Regions from separate parts of the Homo sapiens genome. Here regions 1 and 3 are each linked to region 2. The links are contacts of gene promoters, found by promoter capture Hi-C in blood cells and fetal thymus (Javierre and others, 2016). All regions are on one chromosome and are shown on one strand. Each heading gives the region's core, a stretch centred on a gene start or on the middle of the fragment in contact. The rest is flanking DNA. Distances are from core to core; before and after follow the strand shown. Region 1 overlaps RFT1 (RFT1 glycolipid translocator homolog). Region 2 holds the start of ITIH1 (inter-alpha-trypsin inhibitor heavy chain 1). Region 3 holds the start of SFMBT1 (Scm like with four mbt domains 1).

Region 1 (3,822 bases), core at 437-2,936, 320 kb before region 2:
ATGTTGGCCAGGCTGGTCTCAAACTCCTGACCTCAGATGATCTGCCCCCCTTCAGCCTCCCAAAGTGCTGAGATTACAAGCATGAGCCACTGCACCTGACCAAGTTTCCCCTTTTTATAAGGACACCTGTCATATAGGATCAGGGCCTGCCCTAATGACCTCATTTTAACTCAGTTTTCTTCATGAACACCCTGTTTCCAAATAAGGACAGATTCTCAGGTACCACTGGTCAGGACATTAACATATCTATTTTGGGGGGACAGTTCAACTTAAAACACCCCTCAATTCAGTCTACAATCGAAGGTTGGTTCCATTCTTGAATTCCCCAAATGGACACAAAACCCTTTACGTGAGTCACTGATTGGTGCCAGAGTTTGTGTTCTCCATGCCTCACGACAGCCCACTGTTCACCTACTGATGGGCCCTCCTGTGCCATTAGCGTTCAGTTACCACGTAAGGAGGCCCCCCACTCTTCTCTGCTTCTGCCAGGGAGAGGAGGTTGGGGAGAAGCAGGAGGCACACTTGAGCATAGCCTTGAGCCTCCCGGGTGCAGAGCCTGGTCCCCGCCTCCCTTCCTGGAGTCACCGTCAGCTGGGGTGGGGGCCAGGCTACTTCCTGCAGCGGCTTGACAAGCAAAATGCAATGTGAGGTGATAAACATGGAATCTGAGACAGGGCCGTGGAAAACGGTTTTTTGTTGAGCGTCGGGGCTGCCCTGTTAGTATTCCTTTTATAATTTTGTGACTGCCATAAAACTGTTTAGGGGTCCCACAGCATGGAGATCTTTTGTATTAAACAGCTTTCATAAACCCTGAATGAGTTCCAGATTCTGAGACTCCGGAACTTCAGTCCCCCTCCTTTTCTTTCAGTGGTTATGTGTTTTTTTTGGGAGTTTTTTTTCTCCCTTTGTTGAGGTATAATTTACATAAAGTAAAATGCTGTTCTCTTAAGAGTACAGTTTGGTAAGTTTTGACAAATATGTACAAAAAATCCCATGTAACTACCAAACAGATTCAGACATAGAATATCTCCATTTCCCCAGAAAGTTCTTTTGGGACCCTTTCTAGTCAACTACCCCACTCCACCTCAGAGACAAAGAGAAATCAGAAGAAATCTGATTTCTATCACCATGGATCAGTATTTCTTTTAAAAGTAATTTTATATCAATGAAATGCAGCATGTGCGCTCTTGCATTTGGCATATTTCCTTCAATATAAAGTTTTTGAGATTCTTCCATGGTTTCGCATGGATCAGTGATTTTTATTATCTTTTCTTGCTAAGTATTCCTTTGTGTGGATGGCCCACGTTTTGTTTATTCTTTCTTCTGTTGATGGTCAGTTTTGGCTATTATGAATCAAACTGCTACAGATGCTTTTGTGTAAGTGTTTTTGTGAACATGTGTGTTCATTTCTGTTGGATATATACCTAGGGGTGCAATTGCTGGGTCGTAGGTTAGGTGTTTGTTTATTTTATTAGGTGCTTGATTATGGCCCTCTTAAAAGGGGGGAATCAATCCCATTTGTAAGCCTCCTGTTCTCTGCTTAGAAGATTTTTCCGAAGCTTGTTAGCTATAGAACTGCATTACTTTGTTTTAGAAGAAAATACTATTATGGGCACTGGTTCTCACTTTGGATTTGTGTAATTTTCTGCTGGTCCTGGGCCCCTGGCTTTTGTTAAAGGTCTTTTCTTCAGGACCTGCTCAACTGAGATTCCCTTAACATGCAGGGTCACTACTGACTTTGAGTCCAAACCAGCAGGCCTATTCATGCTGATGAAAAAAGGGAACAGACTTGCTTGCTAGCCAGATAAGCTTTTAGTTGTCCAGCAAGAGATCTGTACATTTATTCATAATTGTTCTTTTTTGTGTGTGTGATAAGGTCTTGTTCTGTCACCCAGGCTGGAGTGCAGTGGCACTATCATGGCTCACTGCAGCTCTGACCTCCCCAGACTCAGGTGATCCTCCCACCTCAACCTCCCGAGTAGCTGGGACTACAGGCATGCCCACCACACACAGCTAACTTTTGTATTTTTGGTAGACACGGGGTTTCATCATGTTGCCCAGGCTGGTCTCTAACCTCTGGGCTCTAGCAGTCTGCTGGCCTTGGGCCTCCCAAAGTGCTAGGATTACAGGTGTGAGCCACCGTGCCCAGCCTGTCATTTTGTTTTTTGCTGATTATTTAGTCAATGCCATAGAATGTTGGGAATCCTTCTAGATTATTAAGACCCTGGGCTCTAGCATGCAGTCTGCCCATTGCTGATACCAGCAGACCTCATAGTCTGGTTCTGGTTCTCTGGGTACTCAGCAGCACTGAGGGTACATGTGGGCCTTCTGATTGGGCTCTGGAGTCTCAGTGAGTTGTTTCCTTGTAGGTCCTGTTTTGCTGCGTTCCTACTGTCTCTATGTTCTCCTGCTTGCCATCAATGGAGTGACAGAGTGTTTCACATTTGCTGCCATGAGCAAAGAGGAGGTCGACAGGTGGGTAACCTAGCAGGTACACCTTTAATCATGGCCTTCAGCCAAAATGAAATAACTTGTCAAGCTTTTTGCTTTTCGTTCTGAACATGCATTTACAGATGGCTGTTTTAGAGGCAACACTTAGTCCACCAGTGTGGTGCTCCCCTGGGATCTCTGTGGCACCAGCATGGTTCAGCAAGTGCTCCCCACTGTAGGGCTGGGAGGCAGCAACTACTCTTTGCCTCCCCTTTGTGGAGGAAGAAACATCGGCTCTGAAAGGTTACATTAGTCCAGGTTTGCAGAGTCAGGCACCAGACAAGCTAGATTTCCATTCCTCCACCTCCTTGCTCACCCCAGAAGAGTGGTCCTCCAGTAAGTTACTGAGGAGCTTCTTCAAGATGCACATTCCTACCCCTGAGAACCTGATTGGTGGGTCTTTGAGAATCTCAGGGATTCTGTGACACTTCTCCTGAGAAAAGCCCAAGTGCACACATACATCTCATCTTGCCATAATTTTTTCTCAACTCTTGACTCCAGATCAGGATTCCTGTCCTGGAATCCCCTACCAGTGGTTCTTTTTTTTTTTTTTTTTTTTTTTTTGAGATGGAGTCTCGCTCTGTCGCCCAGGCTTGAGTGCAGTGGCGCAGTCTCTGCTCACTGCAAGCTCTGCCTCCCAGGTTCACGCCATTCTCCTGCCTCAGCCTCCCAGGTAGCTGGGACTACAGGCGCGTGCCACCATGCCTGGCTAATTTTTTGTATTTTTAGTAGAGATGGGGTTTCACCGTGTCAGCCAGGTTGGTCTCGATCTCCTGACCTTGTGATTCTCCCGCCTTGGCCTCCCAAAGTGCCGGGATTACAGGCATGAGCCACCGTGCCCAGCCTCATGGGGGTTTTCATGCTGCCTCTGTAACCTTGATTGCTGGTGAGGGCCCTCAGAAGCCTGGCCATGGGGTGGGATGGGGAGGGAGTGTCTCAAATGGGGACCCTTCCCCCTCCTCTGTGTGTGTCCTTTCCTGCGCTGGCTCATGTAAAAGATTGGGGACTTTGTTTGCTACACAGTGACTGAGAACTAGAGTCCAGACCAGCAGGTCTCAGTCCAGACTGATGAGATTCATCTAGGAATTTCTGGTCCACTCCTAGCCAAGCTGAATTAGAATCTTAGAAGGCTTGAGCCAGGGAATCTGTTTATTACACAGCTCTAGGCAATTCTGATTCTAGGGCTTTGGAAACTGCTGGCCCAGACCAGCTTTCACAGTAAAAACGACACGGAGCACTGTGACCTAGGACGCACTTAGGTGTGTGTGACTGAGACATGAGTTCACAAGGCAGGAAGTACCCCAGTTATGCGTAGGACACGCTGATGCTTTC
Region 2 (3,677 bases), core at 946-3,445:
CTCAGAGATAAAGAGGAAGTTAGAGAATTCAGGGAGTTCCCTGCCCAAGAAGAGCACATCAGAGCTCACCCTGAGGGGTTAGTCCCCATCCCTGTGTTCTCAGGCCTGGGTGGTGACACATGGTGGGTGCTCAACCAGTGTTGGGAGCCATGGTGACGGAGAGAGGGGCAGGACCCCTGCCCCGGGACCTGTGATCTACCTCAAAATGATGCACCAGCTGCTTGGGCTTGACTTTGATGACAATTTCATACTGCATATGGTTTCTCTTCAGCACTTCCTCATAAGTCAGCTGAAACGTGACCTTGCTCTGGGGATTGACGGTGAGGTGGATGGTGAATTGCTCCATAGTTCTCCCCGAGGCCCTGGATGTGCCACCAGAGGCAACAGCAGACAGACAGAGGGTAAATGACATTTGGGTCCTTGTCACCTAACATGTGGCCCACAGAATTTATTTCTCTTAGATGAGTGTTGCTCCCAGGTTTCCCTGGACCTCACAAATGTGTTAGCTGGCTGGTCAGGGTCAGGGCCCAAGATGGCGGGGGCCCACTTCTCCCAGTGGCATATCTGGGAAAAGGGCAACTGCACGGCAGCCTGTTCAGTGCACCGTGCTGGCATCTGGGTTTGGGCAGTTTGCTTACCCTTCCATCATCCTGGGCTGTTCTCCACTAAAGCCACCTTGCAGCCATCAGACCTGTCCTGGCTGGGGAGGGCAGCCCTAGAGATGAGACCAGCAGGCCCAGAACTCACCTGACAAGGCCGGCATTCTCTCCTGAGATAGCTGCTTTCCGGTACTGCTTCCATGCAGTCACCTTGTCCTTTATGTCTCCGATAAATGCGTTTCCATCTGCTGTACTGCAGGGAGGGAAGGACACCCTCAGGAAAGATGAGCCTCCTGACCACACAGGTCCTGAGAGGGCCTGTCCATGTGAGCCCTTGGATAAGGACGTCTCCTGACGAGCCTTCCACTGCCCATGGTGGAACTCAGGGGTCCATGGGCAATGAGGTGAGCAGCCCAGGTCAGAGGCCAGCAAGAAGCCTCAGACTCTGGCCTTGGCTCCTTGGGTTCTAGCCTGAAACATGCTGTGATGGGTCCCAGTTTGCCTCCAAGATGGGAGCCAAGCACAGACCTAAAGGGCTTCTTCCTCCCCTCAAAGCCAGGGCTGGTCTGTGGCCCTTCTAGAATGAGGAGATGCTCTGCGTTATCTGGCCACTCCGATCCTTGTTCTTAAGCTGGGACTAGTAAGCGGCACCCCTGGGAGAAGGCATGGGAGTTGGGCAGGCACGCACACGGCAAAGTCACTGATGAATGCTGTCTTGGGGATTTCCAGGTCGAAGGCCACTTCCCTGGCTTCATTGGCAGTGTTGACCACTTGGCTGGTGACAACATAGTGGGCGAAGCGAGAGGTGACTTTGCAGTTGACTTTCAAACTCCGGATGAACACGCCATCGACAGCCTAAAGTGAGACATGAAGGAGCTGTGGCCTGAGACAGGGCCTCTGTCAGCGAGGGACTTCCTGTGGTACGGGGACTTGGCACTTAGCCCCAGTGCATGGTGCCCAGATGCAGGAAGAACAGACCGCAGGAAGACCCCTGCTCTCTGGCTGAGACCGTGCTGTGGGATATGAGGTGAGATGGGAACAAGTCCCCATTTCTAGGACCCTGGAGAGTACCCCATGCCTATGGCCCTGATAGAGGGGTCCACCCCTGACAGGTTGGGGAAAGCAAGCCTGTAAAAAGGGCTCTGTCACAGACCCCTTTGCCAGGACTCTTACTCACGGTGTCCACAGCCTGTCGCTTCTGCAAAACAAAATCAGGGTCAAGTGTGAGAGGAAAACTCAGGGGACCACCGGCCTGCCAGTTCAGGGATGGGAGTGGAACACAGCCTGTGTCCTCTGCCCCTTAGCTTCACCTCCTTGGTGGTGCTGGGAGGTCACCTCTCCACTCAGAAGTGGTGGAGGTGGTGGGGGTGACCCTGGCCCCTTGAATGGGGGTCTTGTGTCCCGCCCGGGGCCTCATCCAGGTTCAGCTGCCTATTTCTGCCCTGTGGGCTTAGCCATATACCTCGCTGCTCTTGGACCTGCCTGTAGCCGAGCCCAGGGCAGGCATGGCCTGCAGGATGAGGAGAGATACCAGGTACATGCACAACAGCAGCCCCCGAGGCCCCATGGCACCGTCCATGCTCTAAGGCTCCTGCTGCCCTGTCACCTCAGTCAGACCAGTAATCAATACAGTGCTGGATAAACATGGATTAAACATTAGACAAGGTGCAGGCAAATATTAATGACAAAAACCGCAATGACTTTTGCATCAACCTAACACATTTAGAGGAATCAAAATTTGGCAGTGGAAGCTTTTTGCCTCAGGGGGGTTCCCAGCTCTGGGTGGTTAAACTACTGATGGGGCTCCAGACCATGTCCCTCTGTGTAGAACTGCGCTTAGCCTATGTGAACTGTGAGGATCCCCGGATGGCTCATCTCATCCTCGGGCTGGCACAAGGCAGCACCAGTGACACGGTGACATGTGGCAAGAAGCAACAGTTAAAAATGGATTTCTAAACTTCATTAGGCTTTACTTTTTTTTTTTTGAGATGGAGTTTTGGTCTTGAGTGCTAGAGTGCAGTGGCAGGATCTTGGCTCAGTGCAACCTCCACCTCCTGGGTTCAAGTGATTCTCCTGCCTCAGCCTCCCGAGTAGCTGGGATTACAGGTGCACACCACCATGCCCAGCTAATTTTTGTATTTTTAGTAAAGACGGCTTCACCACATTGGCCACGCTGGTCTCGAACTCCTGACCTCAGGTGATCTGCCCGCCTCAGCCTCCCAAAGTGCTGGGATTACAGGAGTGAGCCACTGGGCCCGGCCAGGCTTTACTTTCAAATTTCTTTTTTTTTTTTTTTTTTAAGACAGGGTCTCCCTCTATCGCACAGGTGGAATACAGTGGTGCGATCTTGGCTCACTGCAGCCTCGACCTCCCAGACTCAACTGATCTTCCCACCTCAGCCTTCTGAGTACCTGGAACCACAGGAATGTGGCACCACACCCAGCTGATTATTTTTATTTTTTGTTGAAACAGGGTTTCAGTCGGGCGAGGTGGCTCATGCCTGTAATCTCAGCACTTTGGGAGGCTGAGGGAGGCAGATCACTTGAGGCCAGAAGTTCCAGCCCAGCCTGGGCAACATGGTGAAACCCCATCTCTACCAAAAATACAAAAATTAGCCAGGTATGGTGGCATGCGTCTGTGGTTCCAGCTACTCAGGAGGCTGAGGCAGGAGAATAGCTTGAGCCTGGAAAGTGGTGGTTGCAGAGAGGCAAGATTGTGCCACTGCACTCCAGCCTGGGTGACGGAGCGAGACTGTCTCCAAAAAGAAAGAAAGAAAAGAAAAGAAAGAGAGACAGAGAAAGAAAGAACAGAAAAGAAAAAAGAAAAGAAAAGAAAAGAAAAAAGAAAAGAAAGGGAGGGAAACAGGGTCTCACTTTGTTGCCCAGACTGTTTCAAAATTCTTTCAGCATCAACACACTTTTCAGTCATGCTTTGGCCAGGGAGGCAGACACGGTGGCTTAGAAAGTGTGTGACATCCAGCCATGCTGGTGATTCTCACAGTGCTAACCTGGTATTAGCTCTGTCAGAGACAGTCTGGACGGTCGGGGTGAGGCATGATGGGAGATCTGCGCTTTAGGC
Region 3 (3,842 bases), core at 690-3,189, 270 kb before region 2:
GGCACGCGCGCATCTGGGATCCGGCCGCTTCTCCGCTCATGCCATCTTGTCCGAGCCAGTCACGTGCGGGCGACAGCGGCGCGCTTCGCCGGGCCGGTACTCCAGGTCCGACCCGCGAACCCCTCTGGGATCCCCGCCGCTCTGTCTACAACCCGAGGTGAGGCGCAGGCTGGATCGGGGCTGGGCCAGGGCGGGCACTGGGTTCCCGGGGACGCGTCTCCTCTTCCGGGCCGTTCCGCTCGGGGCCACAGCGCCGTCGGGGGCCCGAGGCGCCGCCGCGTGTCCTGCGCCACGGCCTCGGGGCCGTCCGCGCCGAGTTGCTGGCTGGGGGCGTGGGTGGCCCGCGGCGCCGGACCCCCGGCACACCAGCCCGCGGAGTCCTTGCCTCCCGCGCGGCCCCAGCCAGGAGGGATGGCGCTGGGGCGGGAGCGGGGCAGCCGGGCCCGGGAGCTCCACGGGCGCGGCGCGAGGGGCGCAGGCTGCCTGGAGGACCGCGGAGCTGGGGGTGGGGGGGCGCGGGCGCATGCGCCCTGCGTCCGTGCCATATTGGAATGAGTCGGAGCGCGGAGCGCCGCCGCCGCCTCCGCCGGAGCGCGGGTGGAGGGGGGCGGGGAGAGCTGCCGGCCGCCCCGCTCCGCCGAACCCAGCAGGAAGGAGGGCGCGAGCGGGCGAGCGCGGGCAGCACGGGAGGAAAAAGCTTCCGCGCGGGGGAGCGAAAAGACGGAAAGAAAGAAAGAAAACGAGCGCGAGAGGGGGAAAAGCGAGCGATCGAGCGAGCGCGCGCGCGAAAACTCCGGGCAGGTAAAAAAGCGGGGCCACCGGCTGGGCCTTCCCGCGCGGCGGCCTGGAGGGGCGGCGGCGGCGCCGGGGCGGGGGACCGTACGGCGTCCCCTTCGAAGCGGCCGCGCAACTTTGCCAACGGGAAACCGCCGGGCGCCGGCGGGCGCGCGGGCTGAGGCGCCAACGGGCGGCGGCGGCGGCACGTTGGGGGCGGGGGCGGGGCGGGGGGAGCGCGGCGCCCGCGCGCGGCCCCGCGGTCCCGCGCGCCGGCCGGCCGGCTGCAGGGGCGCGCCTGGGCGCCTCGCCGCGGCGGAGAGCGGCGGCGGCCGTCAGCCCCTGGCAGGCAGCGCGGCGCGCGTCAGCCCGCGGGAGGCGTGAAAGGAAAGTGGCCGGGCGGCGGCAGTGGCGGGCGCCCAAGTTCCCCGGCGCGCCGGGCCCGCCGCGCGCCCCTCCCCGCGCGCGCCCCGCGCTCCGCCCGCCGAGCCCCCGCGGACCCGCCCCCCGGGCTCGCTCCGGGCGGGGCGCGAACCCGCAGCTGGGGCCGGGCGCGCGGCCGGTCGGAACTTCGGAGGGCCCGGGCGGTCGCTGCGCGGTGGCGGAGCGTCTAGTGGCCGCCGCAACCGGTGGCTCCGGGCCGCCGTTGTGAAGTGAGCGGGCCTCTCCCGCGCCGCGGCCCGCCGGGCACCGCCGCTGGACCCCGCGCCGACCCGGCAGCGCCCCGACCTGCCGCTCGGGAGGTCCGCGACCGTTTCGATTTCTGTTCCTAAAGTCCGATTTTGGACGCTGAAAAGGAGGCTGTGGAGGGGCGAGCGGCGTCCTGGGAAGCAAGGCCTGCTCTGTGCGGAGCAGAAACGCCTTGTGCGAACAGAAATAAATTCCCGCGGAAAGGATGTACGTTATGCTAAGTTTTTCACAAGATGTCAGCTGTTCCCGTAGGGTCTAAAACTAAGCCGGCAGGCACAGGTCACCCCCAGAGCTTGTGCTCAAGGAGTGGTGGACGCTTGGGTCAGGTGGGGGTGTTCCCAGCGGGTCGCCCGAAGCAGCACTGGTTGATGGTCCCAAGTGGTGTTTTTGAGTCCTGTTAGCAGTGATCTGTGTTTGAGAACCAAGTAACCATCAAAGAGATTCGAAAGGAAGTAAGATGGATTTTGTCAATCCCTGCGTATGTCTTCTCTTGAACCACATTTTCTAAGATGTCATTCTTAATTTTATTGCATCTGGGTAAAATGCCTGAACGTGTAATCATTAATTTGTCAACTGGCGAGAGGATGAAGGAAGATGTGTCTTCATGTGTACACTTTGAGGCCTGTTGACTAGCGTTTTGAGGCATTTGTTGAATTAGGCCGTAGGTAGATTCGGAGTTAAGATTTGTTTGCGATGTCAGAAAAGTTACGGCCTGGTAGAAACGGCCAGAGATCAGGAAACAGTTCTGTTATTACCGTTGTCATTGACTAACTGCCTTATCTTGGGCACATTTCTTACCCATTGTAGCTTTGATTTTCCTTATTTGCAACATTAAGATAAACAGATGATGTTTGGGGGTGCTTTCAGTTCGAAAATTCGGTGGCTTTCTTAACTGAAAGATTCTTAGAAATCACAGTGTATATTTTGAGAGGTACTACATAAAAGTGCTCGCAATGTGTGTCTTTATTAAAATTCATTTGGAAAAAACATCTTGGTAGCTAGATCCAGAATGGTTTTATATGATTATTTGAATAGATTTTTAACAATGTATTTTTATGGAGGTATGTATAACCTACCGAAAGATCTTAAGGGTACAATTCAATGACTTTTTATATATGTATATGCCCTGATAACCACACTCAGATCAAGATATGGAACATTTTCAGGCCTTGTATCCTTTCCATTCAGTAAACACATTCCCCCTCCCCAAGGCAACCACAATTCTGACTTCTGTCACCACAGATGAGTTTTGCCTCAAAACAGGACCCTTTTGAGGGTTAAAGGGGCAATACTAACAAACTGAGGATAGCTTGTATGTAAACTTGGAGTTATGGCCGTGTTGGCCATGACCCTTTGCTTTTATAATGATTCTTAGGGTTTTTGTAATCCAGAATAACTTAAAATTCTGTCCTGAGGAACTTCTTAGAAGGTCACTTTTCAGTGGGGGCAATACTTTGCAGGTTACGATTGGTAGTTCTTGGGAGTCCTTATGTTCACAGACAATGGTATTAATCTATGACTTCCCATTTTTAGAATATAGGTACTATATATTTGTAGACAACAGATTTGAAGAATGAATCATGAATTTTCCTAACAAGTTAGAGTTTAAGGTGTCAGTAGATGAATCAGTTTCTTAATGCCTAGAATTTGCTGAGAAAATTGAATGAAAATTGGTTTCTTAAAGTTAAGTGAATTAAGAATGTGTGCGTAAAGCTTTAACAACCTTTTCAATGACAGCAGTTGACTTATATATACAGGATAGTCAGCTGGTTTATCAAATCATTTAAAGTGCAACAATGAAAGCAAAAACAAAAGGTTAACTAAAAATTATGTCAGGTGTGATTAAAAAAATCAGCATGACTAAGATACCTTTTTTTTTTTATTAACCCTCTTTCTAGGAAGGTGGACTTTTAAATATTCTCCACTGAAGCAAATGCTGCAACAATTTGCATTTCCTTCACCAATGTCGTCTTGTGCCTTTTCTTGTTCCTACTGTAAAGGAGATGGGTTAGATGTTGTAAGTGAATTCTTATTTTGTTAGTTCCTAACAAAGGCTTGTGTTTTTTACTGCAAAGATATCTGTGTGATAAAAGTTGGGAATGTTCTAAGGCCTGTGGTGTAGGGATCCATGGGGAATAGTCCACAAAGTTAAAAGGTTTTCTTTTGTGAAATGATTTCGCTGAATAATTCTGTCTTTCCCGTGTTAAGCTAGCCAGCCAACTGACTGACCAGCAACTAAGCTGGATTTGGTCACTCCACCCAAGATTCACAGCCTCATTAGCCAAGAGAGTAATTGATGACTTAGCTATTATTGATACATTGTTTCTTTTTGTGGCTCTTTTTAAATTTCTTGACTTTTATGTGATCAGATTGTTTAA

Evidence for each region. Contacts are between HindIII fragments. The CHiCAGO score rates a contact against its expected background, and 5 or more counts as called.
Region 1: a fragment that was not itself captured here is called in contact with the fragment with the promoter of ITIH1 in region 2 in 7 of 17 cell types (erythroblasts, M1 macrophages, M2 macrophages and 4 more); the score reaches 8.1 in erythroblasts.
Region 3: a fragment that was not itself captured here is called in contact with the fragment with the promoter of ITIH1 in region 2 in 1 of 17 cell types (M0 macrophages); the score reaches 5.0 in M0 macrophages.

The regions. Positions count from the first base shown.
Region 1 is chr3:53,098,034-53,101,855 of GRCh38, reverse strand. RFT1 (RFT1 glycolipid translocator homolog) reads left to right here. Exons shown (of 13, transcript NM_052859.4): 11 at 2,370-2,475. Among named protein-coding and RNA genes, the nearest start is that of RFT1, 30 kb to the left of the region's middle. The HindIII fragment of the contact is 250 bases long and covers 1,562-1,811 here.
Region 2 is chr3:52,776,117-52,779,793 of GRCh38, reverse strand. ITIH1 (inter-alpha-trypsin inhibitor heavy chain 1) reads right to left here and starts at 2,195. Exons shown (of 22, transcript NM_002215.4): 1 at 2,062-2,195; 2 at 1,777-1,797; 3 at 1,288-1,454; 4 at 748-852; 5 at 200-362. The coding sequence starts at 2,178. RefSeq lists enhancers at 89-378, 363-1,562. The HindIII fragment of the contact is 3,325 bases long and covers 1-2,352 here.
Region 3 is chr3:53,042,775-53,046,616 of GRCh38, reverse strand. It overlaps SFMBT1 (Scm like with four mbt domains 1), which reads left to right and starts at 544. Exons shown (of 21, transcript NM_016329.4): 1 at 544-801. RefSeq lists an enhancer at 1-228 and silencers at 216-325, 376-695, 796-855, 1,216-1,505. The HindIII fragment of the contact is 2,480 bases long and covers 700-3,179 here.